5 separate regions of the Homo sapiens genome follow, and all the other regions are linked to region 3. Evidence: promoter capture Hi-C in 16 types of primary human blood cells and fetal thymus (Javierre and others, 2016). All regions are on one chromosome and are shown on one strand. The core of a region is centred on a gene start or on the middle of the fragment in contact, and the rest is flanking DNA. Distances in the headings are between cores, read along the strand shown. Region 1 overlaps HMG20A (high mobility group 20A). Region 2 has its middle 83 kb from the start of HMG20A. Region 3 holds the start of TSPAN3 (tetraspanin 3). Region 4 overlaps HMG20A (high mobility group 20A). Region 5 overlaps HMG20A (high mobility group 20A).

Region 1 (2,700 bases), core at 201-2,700, 370 kb before region 3:
ACAGAGTGAGACCCTAACTTAATAATAATAATAATAATAATAATAATAATCATCATCATCATCATCATCATCATCATAAAAAATAGATATATAAGAACAAAGATTGGAAGGAAACACATCAAAATGTTCAAAGTGTTGGGAGGCCGAGGTGGGCAGATCACTTAAAGTCAGGAGTTCAAAACCAGCCTGGACAACATGGTGAAACCCTGTCTCTACTAAAAATACAAAAATTAGCCCGGTATGGTGGCAGGAGCCTATAATCCCAGCTACTCTGGAGGCTGAGGAAGGAGAATCGCTTAAACCTGGGAGGTGGAGGTTGCAGTGATGAGGGATCACACCACTGCACTCCAGCCTGGGTTACAGAGCGAGATTCTGTCTCAAAAAAAAAAAAAAAAAAAAAAAGTTCAAAGTAGTTATGTCAGGGTGGTGAAATTATGAATAATTACTTTCCAATCTTTGTTTTAAACTCAACCTTCAGCAGTATGGTTTTGTTACTTTAAAGAAAGAGGAAAAGTGCCATCAAGGATCACAGATGTTTTAAAATTAAATTTTAATTTCACATGCAATACTTAGTTTCTTTTTTGTAAAAAAAATATGGCTACACGTAGAGCTAAAATTCCCTTTTTGCCAGACTCTCCATACTCCCCTTTCCAGAAAAACACCATTAGAAGGATTTCTAAGTCCAGCCTGAGTGACAGAGCAAGACTCCATCTCAAAAACAAACAAACAAGGAGTTTCTAGCTTATTGCTGAAAGATGCCTTAAAGATAGTTGCTAATGATATATTCTTTCTCTCTCTCATCAGAATTAGGACTATAGGGCAGAGAAGAGTACGCATGTCTAGCAGGGAGAGTAAGGGCACAATTTATAAACCTCATGCTTTATATTAAAAATTCCCTTAAATTCTGCAGTCAGTTTTATAAAGCAGTATTTATTTTAACACAAGAATTAATGTTTTAAATTGCACGAGGCCAGGACAAGGATCATGTAGCCTCAAAACAGTATTTCCCCATGAGTGCAATAACACACAGCACAGATTCAGTTCATTTTCTTGACAGATAACTGACATATTTTGATACTGAGGGGAAAAAAGTGTTGTGACTTCCTTATTGAATATCTCCACTATATAGCAATATATTGAGAAGTTCTAACTCAATTTATGTCCTATTAACTTTCCAGATAAGTTACATGAAAATACACTGAAATTATCAAACAAGAATACCATTTAATTATGGGAAAACAGACCAGGAAAATGAGCTCAGCATTTCCTTAAGAGGTTTAACTCTGAAAATTACAATATATCTGAGGTTGTTATATGTACATTCTTATGTCACTGGCAGGAAAAGTAACAAGCTTTTGGTAAGTTGTTGTTTTACTTCTTGCCAATATACCTTAAGATAAACCTAAAATGTAATGTGTTTGATTCATCTCTAATTCCACTGGCATCTCTGTGCCTTCAGAAATTGGACTCTAAATTGCCTTACACGAAAAAGAAAAGTTATTGGTACTCTCAAGCTCATCATTACAATATTTTTCCACAGAAGCTTCTCTGGAGGCATTTATTCTTACTAGAAACTCTGTCCAAATATTTAATTTGGCCCTGGGTGTTTAGTAACATTAGAATATTTAAAAGACAAAGTTGATAAATTACAATCAAGATGTAGTAATGTGAGCTATGAGGGAAAAAAAGCTTAACTGTGATTTCTACAACAAATTCACTCAAAATTTGGAGACAAAAAGCATCTCAAATATTTGATAAAGGATGATATGCTGCATAAACTACAAGGAGACAACCTGAGGCAGTAGGAAGAGCTCTGAATCGAAGTCAGGAAATCTGACTTTGAGTTCAGGATATACTACCAACTAACTGGTTTCTGGGATCACTAAATGACTCTGGCTCAAGTTTTTTCACCTGTTCATGAAGAACAAAATCAACTTCAAATTTGTTTAGCTGTCAGACTACATAGAATACTGAGAAACAGTATATTTAATTATATGAACTAGAAACACTAACAAACTAGCAGAAAATAGGAATATATTAAAAATTCAATATAAAATCACAACCATAAACATATATGTACACAAACAAACACAGAGTTCTCTAAGCATGGTATGCACTTCTGAATTCTGTTCATATTTATTTGCTATCTGGGAGGGAGTCTCAGTTTATACTGAGGGCTCTGGAGTCAGACTGCCTAGATTCCAATCTCATCTTTTACGTATTAGCTGTGGAACTTGGGCAAGCTAGTCAAAAGCTCCAAACCAAGGTTTTCTTATCCTATAAATGAGAAGAGTAATAGTACATACTATATAGAAGTTATCTCAAGAAGTAATCTGTGTAAATAAAGCAGGTAGTATGGTGTCATCATATAGTAAGAGCCTAATAACAATAATGATAGCAATAATTGCAGCAAGAATTTATTGCTTACTAAGTACCAGGCACTATTTTAAGAGCTATACGTGTATGATACCACTTAATCCACACATCTGCCGTATCAAGTAGATATTATCATTAGCACCTATTTTATAGTGAACAAACTGATCCACAGAGGGGTTAAGTAACTTACAAATGTTTACTGTGATAGTCACTATGGCTATTCAAAAATATTTAGATCTCCTTTCAGAAACATAAGAGGAAACTTCCTCACTGCCTCAGAGAAGACACAAGGACCATGTAACTCATGGGCAATGAAAGTGAGTG
Region 2 (2,700 bases), core at 196-2,695, 430 kb before region 3:
GCCCTATGATCAAGGCCATCGGGCTCAGCATGCTGTCCCTACACGACCTTGCCAGGGTCTTGCTCTGTCCAGCTGGGCATCTGGTGACTGGGCCATCCTGAGTCCCCTGACTGAAGAAGATGTCCTAGGAAAGATGTGTCTGAGCTGCATCAGCTCTGGGAAGCTGCCCAAGCTGAGGCTGAGGCCCTTTACCTCGAACCTGGAAATCTCTGCCTGCTTCAGCCTTGTCGATGAGGCAAAGCCTCAGAGTGGACGTCCCAACTCATGCATTGCTGGCCAGGACGTGCAGCCATCTGGAGCACAGGTCCAGGGCTGGAAGGGCACTTGTGGGCAGTCACTCCACTTCTTCCTCCTATTCACATGGGGGAAACCAAGGCCTCAAGAGAGGAAGGCGTTTGATCAAGGCCAGTCCAGGATTCTGTGTCCAAACAGGTGTTCACATCCCCTGTTCAGTGCTCAGGGGTCTGCCACATATGACCCCGAACCTCAGTGAGTCAACTAACATACACTGTGCCAGGCACCCCCAAGGACGCTAAAATCCCACAATAATACAGCAGACATGTCATGGCCCCTATTGCTTCATTGCCTCATAGACACAGGAGATGATGGAGCCTCAGAGTACTGTAGAAACTTATCTGAAGTTGGTGAGTGGCGGGGCCAGCACTGAAGCCCAGTTTCCCACCTGCAAGCTCACTGCCCTTTGCATCCCCCCATTTGTAACGCCCAGTTCTCTGCTGCCAACTTCCCCCAAGGCCTCACAGGCATCTCCAACAGAAGCCCATCTTTCAGCGCTGCCCCTCCAGCGGTCCTCCAGTGCTGCCCCTTGCTGCAGGCCCTCCTTCCACCCCAGGACTGCTGGTATTTGCATAGCTCTCTATAGTGTACAAAGCTTTCCCCAGTACATTATGTCAGGTTGATTTCCCCAACGGAAACTCCAGCCCCAGCGGGGAGCACCTGCTTCTCTTGGGCAATTACCCTTGAGAGGCCAGAAGGCGCACCCCGCGCAAAGGGTTCCTTACAAAATGTCAGACTGTTCCAAGCAAACAGAAATGGGCCCTGAGCCAGCTCAGCTGTGGCAGGGAGAACTCTAGGAATTAAGGCCTCCCAGACTGCAGCTTGGTACTCTGTCTCCTTACAAGCCTCATCCCACTTCTCAGCACCTGCAAGGAAGAACGCCCTGCTCATTAGCCACTCTGGGAGCGGCAGACAAAGAGCCCAGCTGCCTTTCCTCCTTCCTCTGGACCCCAGGTTGCCACTAGGCTAGGTGTGGGGTCCCTTGATTTCCTCTTGTTCCCACAGGGCTCCCCACTTATGCAGACATCTATCTATGCCTGCCCCAGAAGGCCTCGGCTGAGGACTCTTGGTCAGCAAAGGCAGGACTTTGTTTCTCTTTTACTAAAGATATTTTTTTCCCTATCAAATCTCCTCCAGATCCCCAGGCACTCATATGCCCAGAGTAGAGGTGCTTTTTGCAAAATTCTGGCTCAGCATAGAGGACACTGGACTTTGAGTCCAAAGACCTAAATTTAAGTCCCCGCTGTGCTGCTTTTGAGCTGTGTGTACAGCTGCCATGTGCAGCTGTACAGGTTGTGCACTACCTCGCTATTCAAAGTGGGATCCAGAGACCGGGAGCATACATATCACAGGCGAGCTTGTTAGAAATACAGACTCTTGGGCCCTACCCCAGAGTGACTGAATCAAAATCTGTTTTAACGAGATCCTCTGGTGATTTAAAGACCCAAGTTGGAGAATCGCTGGTGTATTACGATCCGAGGGAGCACCACTGACCAGGGTGTGAGCAGCACCCCTAGAATCGTGTGACATGCTCTCCTGCTCGGGCAAATCACTTCTCCTCTTTGGGTCTCATTTTCTGGGTCTGCCAAGTGGGAATATAATGCCTCTCCCCTAGGGTGGCTGCACTGCTTACATAAGGAATAAGCATCAGAGAGCATCTCCTGAGGAGAGGGCTCAAGTGGGGTCAGCTAGGGTTGACAAGCTTGCCTCTTTCAGGAGGTAAGCTTGGGAATTTTCACCACCCTGAGGGCTTACAGGAAAAACAGGATCCTCAGGTTTTGGAGCTGGAAAGGATTTGAGGGACTCCTTTGATTGAGCAGACATTCAACTTTCAGTCAACAATTTTACAGATGATGAAACTGAGGAAGGACAGGTGAAATAGCAAAACTGATGGTTTTGATACCAGATTTTGCTATCAGTGACTGAGCTGGGACTGGAGTCCAGCCCAGTTCCATCTCACTGCCCCCTCTCCCCATAAGCTCTAGCAGTTGTGTAAAGTTGTTCTTGCAACTTATCTATCTATGCTTTGTCTTCAGCACTTCATGGGGATGAACTGGAGGGAGGCTGGATAGAAGTTGCATCTTCCTTAAAAAAGAATACCTAAGCAAATAAGTAGATGGCTGTTTTTCAGAGTTAAATAGGGGATTGTCAGGAAAGATGAAACCACTCAGAAAGGAGTACATCAACACTGATTTTTTTGTTGTTCGTTTTGCTTTTGTTTTTGCGACAGGGCTTCACTCTGTTGCCTAGCCTGGAGTCCAGTGGGATCCTAGCTCACTGCAACCTTGAACTCCTGGGCTCAAATGATCCTCCCACCTCAGCTTCCTGAGTAGCTGGGACTCCAGGGGCATGCCATCACGCCTGGCTAATTTTTTTTTATTTTTTGTAGAGACAGGGTCTCACTAT
Region 3 (2,700 bases), core at 140-2,639:
TCTGTGTTCCCCTTCCTACAGCACAGTGATCATGTTCCGGTCTCTGGGCCTTTGTCCTTGCTGCTCTCATCTTTGGGCTGTTCCCCTCACCTCCCTTGGGTCCCCTCCAATGTTCTCTCCTCAGAGAGGACTCCTCTCATCACTCTATTCCTTTCCTCTGAATTGTTTCCTAACACTACCTCATGTCATATACCCACTTGCCCGTTTGTTTATGGTCTGCCTCCTCTGCCCGAACGAATGTAAGCCATGGAAGGAAGGATACGTCTTGCTCACAGTGGAATATCCACCACCGACAACAGTGAGGCCCAGAGGGGACACGCGGCAAGTTTGATGAGTGAATAAATGGCTGTTGCTGCTGCTTGGTGTAAATGCACAGGATGCTGAGATTAACAGGTACTTCTGAGAGTGCCTGGGAAAGGTGATGAGTGGGGGAGATTGCATGAGAGCGAGCTGATAAAGACCAGTAAATGGAAATCCTTACGGGCGCGGTCAAGGAGGGAGTGCAGGATTATAATGGCAGGAAAGACAGCAAACAGAGGCAGTTTATTGTGTGACTGATGATGTGTTTTTTGCACTAGACCACTTACTATGTGTGGCTCTGGGCGAACTTCTTAACCTTTCTAAGCCTCAATTACCCGATCAGTAAAATGAGGCTGATAACCATAGTGCCTTCCATCCAGGGTTGTGGTGGGGGTTAAATGAACTAATGGAGCCTGGCACCGGGTGAGCACCCAATAATTAATTGCTATGACGGATTCAAGATTGGGGGAAGAATGTGAAATGTTGCAATGCAAAGAGATGTTTCTGTAATCGTTGCGAATCTTGGTCCAAAACTTACTACCCTGGAATAGAACTTGTTCCCAACCACTCACCCACACAAACATGTCTCTGCCTTGCTAACGCCATCACCAGCCTTTTCTCCTCTCTGACTCTTCTGAGGTCTAGCCCAGCGCCTGGTACAATAAGTTTCTCCATAAGTATTTGTTGTTTTTCTTTGCACTTCTCACCAACAGTGCTGCCAAGATTTTAACCTGGTCAGGAGAATCTGGTCAGGCAGAGATTAGTGTCTCCAACCTTCCTAGGGGAGAATGGGCTAGGTAGAAAGATAGCACTCAGAGGGCTCTGAATCATCTATAAGGGTGGCATAGTCATAGGAGGAGAGTGGGTTTGGTCCACCAGAACCTCCCTAGGGAGCCATCTGCGTCCAAGGGCGGCCAGAGGCCAAGAAAAGGCGCTGAGGCCTTGGCTCCTTTAAGAGGCGTGGCCTCACTGCAGCCTCCGCAGAGGCGATTGGCTGAAGCTACCGGCCGCGTGGGGCGGGACTCGGTTGCCAGGGAGCGGCGCGGGAGCCCTGAGGGGACTGCGGCGGCTGCGCGGAGGAGCGAGGCACTTGCTGGGGTCGGGGCTGCGCGACGGCGCAGGGGCTGCGGGGAGCGCCGCGCAGGCCGTGCAGTTCCTAGCGAGGAGGCGCCGCCGCCATTGCCGCTCTCTCGGTGAGCGCAGCCCCGCTCTCCGGGCCGGGCCTTCGCGGGCCACCGGCGCCATGGGCCAGTGCGGCATCACCTCCTCCAAGACCGTGCTGGTCTTTCTCAACCTCATCTTCTGGGTGAGCGGGGCCGGGCAGAGCGAGGGGCCGGCGGCGGGGCCGGGCGAGGCCGCGGCGGAGGCGCCCGTGGGGGCCGGGCTTGGGCCTGGGCGGGCGCGCGGGGGCCGCGCGCGGGCCCTCAGGCGGCTGAGGCGAGGGGAGGGCCGGGTGTGAGGCCGCTTCGCGAGGTCCCTGCCGGACCAAGCCGGGAGCCTGGGCGCGGAGGACAGCGAGGGGAGGCCTTCAGGGACTCCACGGCCTCCAGCCGGCGCCTCCGCGCTCGGCCCACGCGGGCTGGCTCCGTGCCAGGCGCCCCAGTCTCCCCCCCCCGGAGTCGCCGGCTGGACGGAGAGCGCTTATTGCAGACTGTAGCAGGACGTCGGGCTCGAAATAGGATCTTCGCCAGAGGCTCAGGTTCCGCGCTCTTTGTCGGGGCCTCGCAGACGAGTGGCCGTCCCGAGGCGGGCAGATCCGCGGGGACGCTGCGGAGCCGGGGCGGGGGTTCCACTTAACGCCCTTTGTGTGTGGAGAACCGGCTGACTGTCACCAGCCCAGAAAATGAAGGGTTTCAACTCGAGGAGCCAAATAATCCATTGACCAAGAACATCGGTCTATTTGTTTTGGTCATGGGGGTGACCAAACTGTGAGATTATAACTCTTGGTTAAATATATGATGGAGATGTCACAAGATTTTGAAAGTGATGAGTTCACTTTCAATAAAAGGTGGCTTATGAATTTTTAAGGGGTACACCCTCTTTGAAAGGAATGTTTATGTCATCTTAGTTTGGGTCCTTATCTCATCAGGGACTTTTATAGTAACCTAAGTTGTTCCTATCCGTCTCTCCACCCTCCAGCCCATCTGGACTTTGCACCCGGATAAATCTTTTAAAACGTTTCCTCTATCACATCACTTGATCTGAAAATAAGGAAAACAGAAGCTTCAGCGGTAGAATAAGGTTCAACTCCTTCCCCTGGTCTTGGAGCAGAAGTCCTCAGTCTGGTCCCAAATCACCTTGCCTCTCTGAACTTGTCATTTCCTTAAACACTTGAGTGCCCTGGACAGATTGCTCTGTCCACAGTCGCCAGAGCACTCCTTGAACATTCCGGTTAACCAT
Region 4 (2,700 bases), core at 77-2,576, 410 kb before region 3:
AAAACAGCAGGCAGTACCAGTGAGGAAGGAAAGAGCATTCTCCTTTAGGGCAGCAATCACAAAGCCACACTGAGGGCTGGCACCCACTGAGCACCGTGTGGGGTAGGAAACACAGCCTTGCTCCACAGGGCACTGTCAGCAAGAAGCTCCTTTCTTTGGAGTCACAGCAGGGCAATGATGGGAGAAGACTGGGCCTGTCCAATGCAAGAAACTCTCCTTCAGAACCTTGCTGAGCAACCAGTTAGTCCAGAGGTCAGAAAATGGAGATGTATAAATTGGTGGGGGCCAAGGAAAGCAAAAATAACCCCCAGAGGCATTTAAAAAAGTGACAGCTAGGTAAGAAAACTGGAGCTCCACTGATAAAAGGGTCTAAGCGAAATTACAATGAAAAGTCTTCCTTTCTGCAGCAGCAGATGTCAGCATCCGGGTCACCTAGTAAGCTGAAGATATGCAGATCCACTTTAACAGAAATGGAAATGGTAGGAACCTGAAGACCCGGGAGAGTGGCTGTACACCTTCAAAGCTTCACATAAGGACAATTCCATAGGAAGCTCATATACATGTTGCTGCTCCCTCATTTGGCTTCCTGGGGTGATGGCCTTTCACTCACTGATAATTCTTTCACAAGCAAAGGGATCTGCACTCTTTCTCTGCCCCCACTCAGTTCAAATTTCCATGGATGGCTTCTCATTCCTCACAAGTAAAAACACTTATGGAACATCTTGGAGTTCTAAGACCTGTAGAATCAGGAAAACAAAACAAAACAAAAACAAAAACAAACAAGGAAAATAACACCAAGAAAGTAAGTATTGAATGGAAGGGGTTAGCGCTATGGATTTTAAAAATGCTTTGGTTTCATAAGCGTTAAAGTGAGTGCAGGGTGTATGTAAACTGAAGAACTCATAAAGCTGTAAGCAGGCAACCTCATTGAGATGTTTTACATAACATTTCAATGAGAAACATGGCCCTGTTCCAGTTCAGCAACAATGGGAGGTAGGAAAATCATCAGCTAAACACAGAAAAGCAACTATCAGGGACAAACCTGAGGAGGGAAAATGAGTACCCTACTTTAGTCTGAAGAATGTATGGTCAATCAAAACCAATTTTCTTCAAGTGTTAACTAAGGATATCTGCATGTATAGAGATGTATTATGTGCATATAATCAAGAACATTTCTCATATTAATAAAAATACAGTCACATAAGATTTTTTTTCCCTAAACTCAAACAGCCAAATATTATCATTGAAATCAGGCAACATATGCATTTTAATAGTTTATATAAGGTAGTCACCTTTCAACTTAAAATCACCCTCATGGCCTCCTCCTAGCTCCACTTGTCTCTAGGTACTACTCAGCTACAAGAAAGGTGACAGACAGGTAGGGTAATTCTTCCACTGTATATTTATCAAAATAATTTTAAAATGAGCTAAAATTCTATAACATTATAATTCCTGGATTACAATTTTTATCTGTTTACTTCCTATGTATCTTAATGCTCTATTTCAGGATTTTTTAGTGCTTTCCCCTTCCCCCATCCACCTCTTCCTTAGAGCAATGTTTTAGAAACCCAGTGAATGAGAGAGTTTAGATATCTGTGGTTCTAGTCTTGGATTCTGTACTCATCTACGCAGATATTTTCAAGCAAGATGTTTCTCCTCTCTGGGATTCAGTTTCTTCATATATAAAATGTTAGATTTCTAAAGGTCCCTAATATGCTCCTCTGAAACTTGTAGACCATTAGCTTCCCTTCACTCACTGGCTCCTGACAGTGGATGAAAACTTTGCCAAACTCTTGTCAGAGTAATTAATTGCATCATGAGTGCTGGGGACATCAGCCTCGCTGTCTGTACATATTTGTATAATGAGGCCAAACCAGTATTAATCACAGTCTTTGTAATTGTTTCCTTTGACAGTTTTGGGGGTGTGGGGAACCATCTATTGTTAGTTATGTTTGCATGGCTAGACTGTAAGAATCTGTAGTAATATAACAGTTCACACTTTTAGCTATTTTTTCAGGGGCAAAATATTTGTAGGTTAAAATCAAGGATAATAGTAATATTCTAAGTTTTCAAAGACTCATCAGAAAACAAATAATATAGTTTATACTCTTGAGATGAAAAAAGCTTTAGGAGAGTCTTACTGGCAAAATGCTCAAAATGGAAAACCACTTTTGGGTCAATACTTAATTAGCTGCCCTGTATCTATGTGAAGAGACACGATGTTATCAATTAATGTTTTCTTTCACAATCTTCCACACTGTTTCTCCCAGCTCTCACTTTTCAAGCCTACAAGAGTGCTAATTGAAAACACTGTACGAAAATGGGAAGGATGATGAGCTCCTGAATATCCCAGGCCTAGATTTACAAGCTGTTCCCTTCATAAGCAGCAGCAGTAATGCCACTTCTTTATTCTGCAGGGAGTCCAGCCATCTCTAAGAAGTACAGTCCATTCCATCTGGCTACTCCCTAGAAGGATAGTAATCCTTTCCCCATCAGAGCATGGCTGAGGCTAAAATATAATGCATTGCCTTGTACAGTTACCATCCAAGGGCATCACCAAGAAGTATAAAGACTTCTGCCTTTGTCTTTACTAGGCATTTATCTTTATATATGTTGCTCAAAGTCCAAACCAAACCAGAATATAAATTATGTATATGAGTGTGCTCATGTACTCACAGGACAAATAAAGATTCAAACCCA
Region 5 (2,700 bases), core at 69-2,568, 390 kb before region 3:
GACTCAACAAGTAGAATTTGAACTTTAAAAGGCCTATGATTTTTATCTATTTTGATCAATGCTTTCTATCTAATGCCTGGAACAATGACACATAGCAGATACTCAGAAAGTTTTTACTGAATGAATATAGTAACTAAGCAGCCTTTAGAAAAGTCTTGGAGAACACTTTCATCTGAGTAGTGAGGTCAAAGGCGGATATCAACGAGGTGAGACATAAATGTGAGGGAAGGAAACAGAATTACAAAGTATAGCCTATTTTTTAAACAGCTCTAAAGAATATTAAAATAATTCATCTTAGGGATTAGCTAGCACTTCAGTCTATTAGTGAACACACTTTCTCTTTGCCAAATAACTTCTAAACATCTAGAAAAGATAAAAATTCAAGTGGAACAGAGATTTTCAAGGGAAGAGGTGGACTACTGTTATTAACCCTTTTCTATATCTCTTTAAATATTTGTCAAAAGATCCCACAGAAAGGAGAAGGGGGTGGGATGGGGAAAGGAACAGAAGTCAGCTAAAGTTACTAAGCATCTTGAATAAAGAACCACATTAAAAAATCTGATCTTTGGGAAAAAACTATTTTAATATCTGTGGTAATTTGAACAGAAAAAATGCATTTGTTTTTTAGAGCTAGCTCTGTGGCAGGTATTTCCTTAATGGTGACTATATAATTTTCTTAACTGGAGTCACCAGTGTTTGCTAGATTCCACATATTGTTGTACCAGTTCACAAAAACCAGAGCACTGCAAAAGATAATTGAATGCAGATTACAAAGTGGTTTATGATGGCTGTCACTCTCTTTGCAAAGTGAAACAAGTGCACCGTCTATTCTTATGATATAAAACTGCCTCTTTAGGACCTCTTACTTTGCTAGAAGCTTTGTTTTGAGGCCTATGGAGAAGTCCAGTGTCCTAAAGCAGCTGCTTACCCAGTGGTAGCCAGATCATTACTCTCCTTGGAACCGTCTTCATCTGCAAAAAGGGGCGGTAGGGTGGAGCTAGTCATCAAGTTTTCCATCTCTCTGAAAGGAAAAGAGAATAAAAAAAAATTAATGGCTTAATTACTTCCATTTCAAGTTCCACTAATTTAAGAGCCAGCCTTCTTGAACTTTATCATATAAGCAACAGAATAAAAACTGACCTAAATATTTATTTTCTTGACTTGGACACATCAATTTAAACTGTATGGTAAATGGGCCTTTTAACCTTGGTCTTATCAACTGACCAGACTGAAAACAAGTTAGGTTTTAACAAATGGGATGTGGTTTGGAAAATTCCTTTTTATTTATCCAGAGTATCTTCAAAAGTATTCATTTCCTGTAGAAATTGTTAAGCAGGGTAACTCAGAAGCACTGCCACTCTGAGCAAGCTATTTAAGCTCTTTGAGCTACAATTTCACCATCTTAGACTAAGACAAAATTGCTGACTTAACCCAAAGGGTTATTGTGAGAGATTAAAATGAAAGTGCTCCATAAACAGAGAAAATCTAAGGTAGTAAGTGCATTGAGTATTATATAAAGAAAGATATTGTTATTACAGCATTACCAGTTCTCAGTCCCAGATGAATCATCTATAGATTAAATGATGGCAAACTGAGCCCTCCAAAAGGAAATAATGCAAAGGAAGTAGAGGATGGAAGGCATGCTGATGTGGCTCTCAGTCAAAGAAACCACACTTCCAGGTCAGAAATATGCTCCACACACCATCATAACCAAGAGCAGAAATAGCATGCACCTGGGTACAGGAAACAACTAAGCTTAATTGAAGAAAACAAACAAATCACAAGAACTGAGGTTATCAGACTGAAAGGATAAAAGGACAAAGTGACAAAGAGAATAATTTCATTTGGCATATCACTATGAAAAACGATTTTTGCCTTTCAAGGCTTACCACAAAGGGCATCACCCCATGTAGTTAAAAGCAGCAGTCTTCCCTTCATCATGAAAGGGATATTCAAACAAAACATTCAGCAGTGACCCCAAACATCAGCCACTTACACAGAACTGCAAAGCACTCAAGAAAGAGTGCCTCAATCAATTGGGAGAATTGAGAAGCAAATTATGAGAATTCACTTAGGAGCTTCCTCAGGAGTTATTTCAGGCGCTGCTGCTGCTAAGGAGACCTGGTGAAACAGCAATTAAAAGGAAAGCACAGCGGCAAAGCAGAGCCAGGATCACTCCACTGAGGTGGAAATATGAAGAAAATGCCGATGACACGAGGACCACATTCTCCATGTTCAATGGAGTGATTTATTTCCAAAAGATAACACTGATGTTTTATTCCTTATTCTTACTTATTCTCACTTCTAAGTTTATTATTTAGCAGGCCAAGTTCCATAAACAGCTTGATGGGAAAAACACATCTCTGTACAAATATTACCCATTACAGTAGGTAGAGCATGGAAGGTAGAGAGGAACTTCTCACTCAACCATCATAAGCACTTTATTCTACTGCAGGAATGCTTGCAACCTCTTTTCAGTTCCTTCAAGATAAGGTGTTTACAAGTGGAATAGCTCTAATAAATACCACAAAATTCCATTCCACATGTTTTACTGAATAACCCTGACTCAAGTGTACTTAAGTTTTAATTCACATTATACAATACAAAGGCGAGATTAAAGCCTGGGCTGCTAACATCACCTCACACCAATGTCAATGTTCATTTTACCAAAAGAAAACTGTAATATCTGTTAGATACCAT

Evidence for each region. The method cuts DNA at HindIII sites, captures the fragments that hold promoters and counts their contacts. A CHiCAGO score of 5 or more calls a contact.
Region 1: a fragment that was not itself captured here is called in contact with the fragment with the promoter of TSPAN3 in region 3 in 1 of 17 cell types (total CD8 T cells); the score reaches 5.4 in total CD8 T cells.
Region 2: a fragment that was not itself captured here is called in contact with the fragment with the promoter of TSPAN3 in region 3 in 7 of 17 cell types (naive B cells, M0 macrophages, naive CD8 T cells and 4 more); the score reaches 7.2 in naive B cells.
Region 4: a contact is called between a fragment that was not itself captured here and the fragment with the promoter of TSPAN3 in region 3, in 4 of 17 cell types (naive CD4 T cells, activated CD4 T cells, naive CD8 T cells and 1 more). The highest score is 7.2, in naive CD4 T cells.
Region 5: a fragment that was not itself captured here is called in contact with the fragment with the promoter of TSPAN3 in region 3 in 5 of 17 cell types (naive CD8 T cells, naive CD4 T cells, total CD8 T cells and 2 more); the score reaches 7.1 in naive CD8 T cells.

What each region holds. Positions count from the first base shown.
Region 1 is chr15:77,440,730-77,443,429 of GRCh38, reverse strand. All of the region lies in intron 1 of HMG20A (high mobility group 20A), which reads right to left. Among named protein-coding and RNA genes, the nearest start is that of HMG20A, 21 kb to the right of the region's middle. The HindIII fragment of the contact is 191 bases long and covers 1,355-1,545 here.
Region 2 is chr15:77,502,784-77,505,483 of GRCh38, reverse strand. It overlaps a transcript of HMG20A not described here. Among named protein-coding and RNA genes, the nearest start is that of HMG20A, 83 kb to the right of the region's middle. The HindIII fragment of the contact is 1,107 bases long and covers 892-1,998 here.
Region 3 is chr15:77,069,798-77,072,497 of GRCh38, reverse strand. TSPAN3 (tetraspanin 3) reads left to right here and starts at 1,389. Exons shown (of 7, transcript NM_005724.6): 1 at 1,389-1,606. The coding sequence starts at 1,544. RefSeq lists an enhancer at 1,023-1,082 and a silencer at 1,223-1,922. The HindIII fragment of the contact is 12,417 bases long and covers 1-2,525 here.
Region 4 is chr15:77,481,007-77,483,706 of GRCh38, reverse strand. HMG20A (high mobility group 20A) reads right to left here. Exons shown (of 10, transcript NM_001304504.2): 10 at 1-737. Among named protein-coding and RNA genes, the nearest start is that of HMG20A, 61 kb to the right of the region's middle. The HindIII fragment of the contact is 1,601 bases long and covers 526-2,126 here.
Region 5 is chr15:77,456,725-77,459,424 of GRCh38, reverse strand. It overlaps HMG20A (high mobility group 20A), which reads right to left. Exons shown (of 10, transcript NM_001304504.2): 2 at 929-1,021. The coding sequence starts at 1,017. Among named protein-coding and RNA genes, the nearest start is that of HMG20A, 37 kb to the right of the region's middle. The HindIII fragment of the contact is 878 bases long and covers 880-1,757 here.